Linked DNA regions of Homo sapiens: region 1 is linked to region 2. The links are contacts of gene promoters, found by promoter capture Hi-C in human tissues and cell types (Jung and others, 2019). All regions are on one chromosome and are shown on one strand. The core of a region is centred on a gene start or on the middle of the fragment in contact, and the rest is flanking DNA. Distances in the headings are between cores, read along the strand shown.

Evidence for each region. Contacts are between HindIII fragments. The study calls those that stand out against the background at their distance.
Region 1: a contact is called between a fragment that was not itself captured here and the fragment with the promoter of JPH2 in region 2, in 1 of the 25 tissues and cell types used here (neural progenitor cells).

Annotation. Positions count from the first base shown.
Region 1 is chr20:44,382,766-44,387,708 of GRCh38, reverse strand. The region is part of intron 1 of HNF4A (hepatocyte nuclear factor 4 alpha); the gene reads right to left. It overlaps HNF4A-AS1 (HNF4A antisense RNA 1), which reads left to right. Exons shown (of 3, transcript NR_172878.1): 2 at 3,037-3,186. Among named protein-coding and RNA genes, the nearest start is that of HNF4A-AS1, 10 kb to the left of the region's middle. The HindIII fragment of the contact is 4,459 bases long and covers 510-4,943 here.
Region 2 is chr20:44,183,830-44,189,268 of GRCh38, reverse strand. JPH2 (junctophilin 2) reads left to right here and starts at 2,081. Exons shown (of 6, transcript NM_020433.5): 1 at 2,081-2,942. The coding sequence starts at 2,564. The HindIII fragment of the contact is 16,539 bases long and covers 1-5,439 here.

The sequences.
Region 1 (4,943 bases), core at 1,490-3,989, 200 kb before region 2:
TTGGGGAGGGGATCTCCCCCGCTCCACCGCCCCCCCCGCCTCCCCCCCCCCCCGCCTGCCTCCACCCCACCCCTTCACTTTTTCTCCTGTGGCTTCCCTACCCCCTACTCTTCACTCAGGGGCCAAGGGTGATCTTGTACAAATGTACATTGGCTCAGATCCTCTTCTACTTAAATTTTTATGACTTCCTATGCATTTATAACAAAACTCATACAACTCCCACTTAACACTGTGAGGCCATGCACGCCCTTGTTTTTATATCCCTCCGTGTCCAACCTCATTTCATTCCACTTGCCCCCACCCCTATCAGCAGCAGGCATACTAGCCATTTTAAAGTTTTTCTTTCCTGTCTTGGGGGCCTTTGCATATACTTTCCCCTCTGCCTGGAATACTTCTTTTTTTTTTTTTTTTTTTTTTTTTAAGATGAAGTTTCGCTCTTGTCACTCAGGCTGGAGAGCAATGGCACGATCTCGGCTTGCTGCAACCTCCGCCTCCCAGGTTCAAGCAATTCTCCTGCCTCAGCCTCCTGAGTAGCTGGGATCCACACCCAGCTAATTTTTTAATTTTTAGTAGAGACGGGGTTTCGCCATGTTGGCCAGGCTGATCTCAAACTCCTGACCTCAGGTGATCCACCCACCTCGGCCTCCCAGAGTGCTGGGATTACAGGCATGAGCCACCACACCTGGCCTGGAATACATTTTAGTAAGTGTTTAATGGATAGTTGTTGGATGAATGACTGAAAAGGTCTTTCAAGAGGAACTGATAGTGATGTAAACTTCAAGTGCTCGGTGCGTAACAGGTATTCAATGAAAAGGATTCTATGCATATAGTAGAAATTTTGGAAAATAAAATAAAAATTGAAGATTTAAAAATCGTATGTGCTCCAACATTTAGAAAGGTTCAAACTCTTAATGGCTAACCAGGGTTTCTTGACCTAAGCACTAATGACATTTGGGCTAGAGAATTCTTTGTCGTGGGGACTGTCCTGTACATTGTCCCTGGCAGCATGTCTGGCCTCTAGCCACTAGATGTCAGCAGCACTTTTCCCTACCCTCAAGGTGTGATAATCAAAACTATCTCCAGACATTTATAAATGTCCCTTGGGGGTTGAAATTATCTCCACTGAGAACCACTGTGCTGGGCTTCTACCCTTACAAGAAATTTTCTCTCAGTCATTCAATGCTTCTCAAATCTTGGTGTCCATAAGAATCATCTGGGGCCATTATTAAAAATTCAGATGGCAGCTGGGCGAGGTGGCTTACACCTGTAATCCCAGCACTTCGGGAGGCTGAGGCAGGTGGACCACTTGAGTTCAGGAGTTCGAGACCAGCCTGCCAAACATGGTGAGACCTCGTCTCTACTAAAAATACAAAATTAGCCGAGCGTGGTAGCACATGCCTGTAATCCCAGCTACTTGGGAGGCTGAGACAGGAAAATCACTTAAACCCATGAGGCAGAGGTTGTGGTGAGCCGGGATCGTGCCATTGCACTCCAGCCTGGTTAACAAGAGCAAAACTCTGTCTCAAAAAAAAAAAAAAAAAAAAAAAAATCAGATGGTGGCTGGGCACGGTGGCTCACGCCTGTAATCCCAGCACTTTGGGAGGTGGGTGGATCACCTGAGTTCAGGAGTTCAAGACCAGCCTGGCCAACATGGTGAAACCCTGTCTCTATTAAAAAAAAAATTAGCCAGGCGTGATGGTGCATGCCTGTAATCCCAGCTACTCGGGAGGCTGAAGCAGGAGAATCGCTTGAACCTGGGAGGTGGAGGTTCCAGTGAGTGAAGATCGTGCCACTGCACTCCAGCCTGGGCGCCAGAGCGAGACCCTGCCTTAAAAAAAACAACAAAAAAAATCAGATGCCTGGGGTCCTACCTCCAGGTGCCAGGACCAACAGTGGGCCTAGTCATCAGATTAAAAAAAAGAAAATATTTAATAAATAGAGGTGGGGCATGGTGGCTCATGCCTGTAATCCCAACACTTTGGGAGGCCAAGGCAGGTGGATCACTGGAGACTAAGAATTCAAGACCAGCCTGGCCAACATGGTGAAACCTTGTCTCTACTAAAAGTACAAAAACTAGCTGGGTGTGGTGGTGCATGCCTGTAATTTCAGCTACTTGGGAGGCTGGGGCAGGAGAATTGCTTGAACCTGGGAGGCGGAGGTTGCAGTGAGAAGAGATCAGGCCACTACACTCCAGCCTGGGCGACAGAGTGAGAGTCCATAAATTAATAAACAAACAAATTAATTAATTAAAAAATAGAGACGGGGGGAGGTGTCTTGCTATGTTGTCCAGGCTTGTCTTGAACCCCAGCCTCAAGCAAATCAGCCTCCCAAAGTGCTGGGATTAAAGGCAGGAGCCATGGAGCACCTGGCCCAAGTGTTTAATGAGCTTCTGGGCACTTCTGATACCAGGTGCCCTCAGACCGCACTTTGAAAACTCCTCAAGGAGGCCTCTCAATCACCTGATCACCAAACCCTGTGTGAGGCTCCCTACCCACCTGGACCCTCTCCTTGAATTCCTCTCCTTTCCAATTATTACCCTTCCCTAGATAGCAAGTGGTGACAGAACCAAACCCTAGCTCAGCCAAAGCCCAAATTGCCTCATCTCCCTTCAGGGAATAGGCAAAAAAAAAAAAAAAAAAAAAAAAAAAAGATCACAGAGTTCAGCTGAAACCACTTAGGAAATATCAGCATCCCCACCTCCCCACCCAAAAGGACTCCTGAGTGGCAGCCTGAGAGGTGTGTCTGCTCATCAGAATAATGTTGTCAGACTGTGTTCTTTCTGGGGGATCATCACACTCCCTTTTCTGGGAACAAATGTTGGCCACTTGGTGGGATGGGCCATCATGATCTACGTCAGACAAATTCAGTGAGTCATGACTCAGCCTATCTCTCTAGACCCATCTTTTATGCCCCCTTACTTATAGTCTCTCTGAGGGCTGTTCTCAACTATTCTATTTCTCTCCTTTCCGGCACATGATGGGGATTACATTTTCTTGCTTCCTTTGAAATGAGATGTGACCATGTTACTTGTTTCAGGTAACGAGATGTGAGCAGAAACAACCTGTGTCACACCTGGGCAGAAGCTTTAAAGGCCAGTGCTGCCCTTGTTGGGGAAGCAAGTATAGATATGAATCGTTCCACAACGCGGAGCGCCCCCTGCCGACCCATGCTGGGCGTGTACTATAGGTGAGCAATTAACTTTGCTGTTCAAACCATTGAGACTTAGGGGTTTTTTTGTGGTTGCAAGCTAACTTCACTTCACTTGACTGAACACAGTCTTTCCAAAGTTTCACTAATTTTTTAATGACCATTATGATTTTTTCATATCTGTAACATTTTTCTTACATCAACTCACTTCTTTTTACTTCAATTTATTTTAGAAAGAAATATTATTACTACCAAATGAAACAGTATCATAAGTAGAAAGCAATGAGAAAATAAACAGAATGAAAGAAATCCTGATATCAAATCCTGACTTAATACTATTTGCCTTTCAAAGCCTCTGGACCTTTGGTCTTTATTTAAAAAAAAAAAAAAAAAAAAAAAAAAGGAGCCAGGGGCCAGGCGTGATGGCTCACACCTGTAATCCCAGGAATTTGGGAGGCCGAGGTGGGAAGATCACCTGAGGTCAGGAGTTCGAGACCAGCCTGACCAATATGAGGAAACCCCATCTCTACTAAAAATACAAAAATTAGCCGGGTGTGGTGGCATGTGCCTGTAATCCCAGCTACTCAGGAGGCTGAGACAGGAGAATTGCTTGAACCTGGGAGGCGGAGGTTGCAGTGAGCCGAGATCGCTCCATTGCACTCCAGCCTGGGCAACAAGAGTGAAACTCCGTCTTAAAAAAAAAATGGGAGCCAGGTGCGGTGGCTCATGCCTGTAATCCCAGCAGTTTGGGGGGCTGAGGTGGGCAGATCACTTGAGGTCAGGAGTTCAAGACCACCCTAGCCAACATGGTGATATCCTGTCTCTACTTAAAATGCAAAAATTAGCTGGGCATGATGGCATGTGCCTGTAATATCCCAGCCTCTTGGGAGGCTGAGGCAGGAGAATCACTTGAACCCAGGAGGCGGAGGTTGCAGTGAGCTGAGATTGTACCACTGCACTCCAGCCTGGGGGAGAGAGTTGAGACTCCGTATTTAAAAAAAAAAAAAAAAAAGAGGTCCCCAAGAGTACTTCTCAATCTTTTGGATCCCCAAAGCTGTCTAAGATTGTCAGAATATTTGAAGGCAGCACAGTATTGAGGCTGAGTGTACCAATTCTGGAACTTGACATCCTGGGCTTAAATTCTGGTTCAGTCATGGACTAGCTGTGTGACCCTGGACAAGTTACTGAACTGCTCTGTGACTGTTTTCTTATTTGCAAAATAGTGACCATAATGATGTGTATGGCATTAGGTCGTGGTGGGGATTATTTGTGTTAATGTATAAAAAGGGCTTAGAAGTGTGCCTGGCACTTAGTGAGTGCTATGGAGGCATTACCTATAAAATGATGGCAGGATCCAGATCCAAATAGATTTGGTGAATTATTGTTTGTTTTTTTTGAGACAGGGTCTCTGTCACTCAGGCTGGAGTGCAGTGGCGCCATCACAGCTCACTGCAGCCTCCAAGTCTCCAGGCTCAGATGATCCTCCTACCTCAGCCTCCAGAGTAGCTGGGACTACATGTGTGGACCACCACCCCTGGCTAATTTTTCTATATTTTGTAGATATGGGATTTCACCATGTTGCCCAGGCTGGTCTGGAACTCTTGGGTTCAAGCAATCTGCCCCTTCTTAGTCTTCAAAGTGTTGGGATTACAGACGTGAGTCACCCCACCCAGCCTGGAGAAATGTTTGAACTCCATGGAGATAAGTAAAAAATCCTCTGCATTGGTTAAAAATAAATCACCTGGATGATTTATTTATTTAGTGTAGATGGGAAAAGCTACCTTAGCAGAAAGTGA
Region 2 (5,439 bases), core at 832-3,331:
TTAAATTCCCATAGGTAGAACACCCTGCTAAGATGTAGCAATGGCTGCCTGGCATAAACATATGATTACGGTATTGAATCTGCAGCTCAAACTCCCCTAGCTTCCAGTTTGAGATGCTCTTCCCTTGACAGCAGAGCTAGAAAGAAGTTTGTGATTCTCCAAAGACCTAGTGAGAAGTGGCGAAAGCAGAACTCCCTGGGAGTAGCCCTGAGATGTTCTTAGAAGTGAATTGTGCAAGCAGGCTGTCAGTCAGCCTGGCCAGGGCTCACACCTAACCACCCAGAGGAAACAGTTTTTATCCACTACGTGCTCCCTGTCAGCTTGGCAAACAGACGGTGACAGTGAGCCCAAGAGGCTGGGTGCCTCTACCTGGTGGTGAAACGCAGATATAGAAGGGGCTCTTGAAGGTCAGCGGCTGTGACCAAGGATGGAACCAAGTCCTAAGAACAGGTAACCCACTGGAAGGAAAGCAGGGAACACTTTTTACCCACTCCCCAAACAGGAACAAGACTTCCGCAGTGACTTCACGTGGCCTAAGTTATCATGGGGTTTGGAAATATGTCAGATAAGTTCAAAGTCAGATAATTGTCTAATGTTCTCTAGTACCTTCTGTGCTTAGTTCTCTCTTTCTCTTCTGTCCCCATCTTCACACACACACTCACACACACACACTCACACATGGAAACACACACACTCTTACCACACACACATACAAACACACACACTCTTACCACACACACTCACACAAACACACACTTACCACACACACACAAACACACACACTCTTACCACACACACTCACATACACTCACACACACTCTCTCACACTCTCACAGACACACGTTCACACACACGCACAGACACACACACACACAGATCTTCCTAGTCTTGGTGGCTCTTACCTTTCCCAGAATTCCTCTATACTCCCATTAACCTTGGGCTTAGCTGGGATTTACAATCATTAGCTCTGGCCACAGCTTCTTGCCATGGAGATTTATTTGTTCTTTTTACTGGAGTTTGGTGGGAACCTGAGTGGCTGGGAATCCACCCAGGCCCTTCTCTCCTGGCCCTGCCCCAAGAGCTTTCTGAAGTCTGGCCTCACAGGCTCCTAGGACACTAGAGCAAAAGACAGCTCAGAAAGGGAAATTTTAAAAAATCATGACCCTTGAGAATTTCTGAGAGGACCTCATTACAACACAACCCTGTGTTGACAGGAAGGGGACTCCTTTGACCTTCAGGGTCTGCTGGGTCTGCGGCAGGGGGCAGGGAGGGCGCCGAGGCATCAAGGGGTGGGGAGAGGAAGCTAGCGGGACGCCCAGTCTGTGTCTCAGGCAGAGAGGAGGGCAGGCTCCTCTCCCTTCTCTTTGCCCTTCAGGAGAAAGAGAAAGGGAATAGATGGTTGCTTCTTGCACCAAGTTCTCCCCGGCTTCCAGGGGTGGAGGGAGCTCAGGGTGGTGAGTGAGCACTGGACTGAGATTCTGTGTATCTTCCAGACCCTGTTTCCACAGCCTCCCCTCTCTTTCTGACTTCCCTCCTCTGCTTTCGGAAGCACATGTGAAACTGTCTCCATTCCTTTCTCTTTAGGTCACTGGATTCCTTGATGGGGCTGGCAGTGGTGCTGTAACCCCAGGTCCCCTTAGGGCATGTGAGTGGTGATGGGGCTGAGATCTGCCAACCTCCTCGCTCTGGGGGATTTTCAGTGTTCCAGGACTGGGTGTTCTGCTGGTCTCCCTCTCCCCTCCCTTCCCCGATTCCCCGGTGCCCTCCCTGCGCGCAGACCCAGGGGACTCTGAGAATGGAAGGGAGCTCTCATTCCCGGGAGGAAAAGACACCAGGTTCCCTGGGCTGCCTGCACTCAGTTCTCAGCCTCCTTCCTCATGCCTCCAGCCACTGCCCGGGTCTGCGGCACGGGCGCGATTTGAAATACCCCTCCTTCCCGCTTTGAAGAAGGCTGGGCTGGCTGGGGGTTATTTTGGGAGCAGCTTCTGAGATCCAATGGCCTTGTTAGGGCAACACTGACCTTTCCGTCCCAGAAGGAGGGCAGGATTGGAGAAGGGGGCGGGGCAGCGGCGGGGAGACCGACAGCCCCGCACACCCACTGGGGTGGAGAAGGGGGCCAGCGGGCTGCGGGAATTCAGCCTCCGGCGGGGGCTGCCACCGAGGGGAATTTCCCCTCTTTGAAAAGGCTGGGGACCCCTCCACCCCACCCTTTCACTGGGCTTCTTAAAGAGATCACACCGTTTTCCCTTGGACTTCTTGGAAGGCAGACTTGGGACGCTTTGTGGGGACTTTGAACCTTTCCTTCCTGCTTTCTTTCCAGCAGGCAGCCTTGCTCTGGCTGGTGGAGTCGGGGCTCCCGGGCATGGCACTGACTAGCCGACCCGGTGCTGACTTGGCGCCGGGGCTCTTTCAGCCTCTGCTGGCATCCTGCTTCCCCCCTCCTGGGGTGCAGTGGTGAGTCTGGGGGCCTGCCCCCGAGGGCACTGGAGGAGTGTTGCAGGCATCACCCACGCCCTCTGCACCCACGCTGGAGGACGGGGAGGTTGTCAGGGGCTATGATGAGATGAGTGGGGGCCGCTTCGACTTTGATGATGGAGGGGCGTACTGCGGGGGCTGGGAGGGGGGAAAGGCCCATGGGCATGGACTGTGCACAGGCCCCAAGGGCCAGGGCGAATACTCTGGCTCCTGGAACTTTGGCTTTGAGGTGGCAGGTGTCTACACCTGGCCCAGCGGAAACACCTTTGAGGGATACTGGAGCCAGGGCAAACGGCATGGGCTGGGCATAGAGACCAAGGGGCGCTGGCTCTACAAGGGCGAGTGGACACATGGCTTCAAGGGACGCTACGGAATCCGGCAGAGCTCAAGCAGCGGTGCCAAGTATGAGGGCACCTGGAACAATGGCCTGCAAGACGGCTATGGCACCGAGACCTATGCTGATGGAGGTGAGGCCAGCTGGGGGCCCGCAGAGGTGGGGTGGAGCCAGGGAGGGTGAGAAACCCTGGTGGAGGGTGGGAAAGGCGACCGGCAATTGGCACAGAATCAGATGGGCTAGGAAGTGATTTGCTGTGTGGTTTTGGGCAAGCTGCTCTACCTTTCTGAGCTTCCATTTTCTTGTAGTAAAGATGGAGCTAATAAAGGGGTTATTGAGAGGATTAGTGGCAGTGCTTAGTACAAAGCCTGCCATGTAAGTGCACACTCAACACACAATAAAATATAACTACTACCATTAGCATGTTCGGTATGCCCCAACATAAACAGCCATGGAATATACTCTAGCAGAATTAGGGTCTAGTCTTAACTTTGCCATGAAAATTATTTTCAAGCAATAGATCATGAGGAGTATTCATCCACCCACCCATCCATCCATCCACCCATCCAACTATCCACTCATCATCTATCCACACACCAATCCACCCACCCGTCCATCCATCCATTCATCCATCCACCCACCTGCCTGCCCATCCATCCATCTACCCACCCACGCATTCATGCTTCCACCCAACCATTCATCTACCCATCCAGCCATTCATACATCTACCTGCCCATCCACCCATCCATCTTTCCATCCATCCATCCATCCATCCATCCATCCATCCATCTATGATCCATCCATGGATTCTTTTTTTTTTTTTCCAAGACAAGTTCTCGTTCTGTTGCCCAGGCTGGAGTGTTGTGGCATGATCTCGGCTCTTTGCAGCCTTGATCTCCCAGGATCAAGTGGTCCACCAACCTCAGCTTCCCTAGTAATTGGGACTACAGGTGTGCACCACCATGCCTGGCTAATTTTTGTATTATTATTTTTTTTTTTGTAGAGACAGGGCTTTTCCATATTGCCCAGACTGGTCTCAAACTTCGGAGCTCAAGCAATCTGCCTGTCTCGGCCTCCCAAATTGCTGGGATTACAGGTGTGGGACACTGTGCCGGGCCTACATTCCTTTTGTGTTTCCTTTTTTAAATTTTTTAAAGATAGGTCTTGCTTTGTTGCTCAGGCTGAAGTGCGGTGGCACAATCACAGCTCACTGCAACCTTGAACTCCTGGGCTCAAGCAATCCTCCCATCTTGGCCTCCTGAGTAGCTGGAACTACAAGGCACATGCCACCAAGCCTAGCTAATTAATTGTTTTTTCTTTTTTTGTAGAGATGGGGTCTTACTATGTGGCCCAGGCTGGTCTCAAACTCCTGGGCTCAAGCAATTCTTGGACTCCGTGGCTCACGCCTGTAATCTCAGCACTTTGGGAAGCTGTGGTGGGAGGATCACTTGAGGCCAGGAGTTCAACACCAGCCTGGGCAATCTAGCAAGATCCCCATTTTTACAAAACGAAAAATCGAAAAACAAAGATAGGCATGCAGACAAACAGTTATACACATTATACACAAGTATGTACAGATACTGTTGCAGAAAGGAGAATTTAGATTTGAGGAGGTCAGGAAATACTTTAAATGGAGCTGACGCCTGAGCTTGGTCTCGACAGGACAGTTACGTTTGTGAGGGTGGGCATGGGGCAGAGAGAAGAGTGAAGACAAAGGCTCAGAAGCATGAGGGTAGCAGTGGGTTAAAGAATCAGAGAGGAGTTTTCTGTGGCAAAACAGCCCTGTGGAGTGGCAGAGCAGATGTCATTACCTAGTCCACAGGGTGTACATGGACATATCACTTAGCTAAGCCAGTTTCCTCATCTGTGAAAAGGGACACTTTAGAATATCAGTACTGCTCAAAATGTGGACGGTGGACGGGCAGCATCAGCACCATTGATCCACCAGTTAGAAATGCAAATTCAGTGGCCCACCCAGACCTTCTCATCAGAATCTCTGAGTGTGTGTCCAAACACTGCTTTCACAAGTGTATCAGGCAATTTTTATAACATCAAAGTTTAAAAAGTTGCTTTAAATTAGGGCCTAGCAAACCATAGGTCGTGGGCCGAACTAGCCTGCTGTCAGTTCTGCACAGCTTATAAGCTGAGAATGATGGAAAAAAAGAAGAAGAAGAAGAAGAAGAAGAACACTTTTTGACATGTGAAATTATTTGAAAGCCCCTACGTAACATCCTCAATTTTGCTTCTTGTCCTGCAAAACCCAAAGTATTTACTATCTGACTTCTTTTGTTTGTTTGTTTTTTGAGACAGGGTCTTACTCTGTCGCCCAGGCTGGAGTGCAGTGGCACAATCTCAGCTCACTGCAAGCTCTGCCTTCCAGGTTCAAGTGATTCTCCTACATCAGCCTCCCAAGTAGCTGGGACAGGCACCCACCACCTCACCTGGCTAATTTTTTTTTTTTTAATTTTTTGGTAGAAATGGGATTTTGCCACGTTGGCCAGGCTGGTCTTGAACTCCTGACCTCAAGTGATCCACCTGCCTTGGACTCCCAAAGTGCTGGGATTACAGGTGTGAACCATCACACCCCGCCCTACCTGACTCTTTCCAGCGAAAGTTTGCTGGCTGCAGTT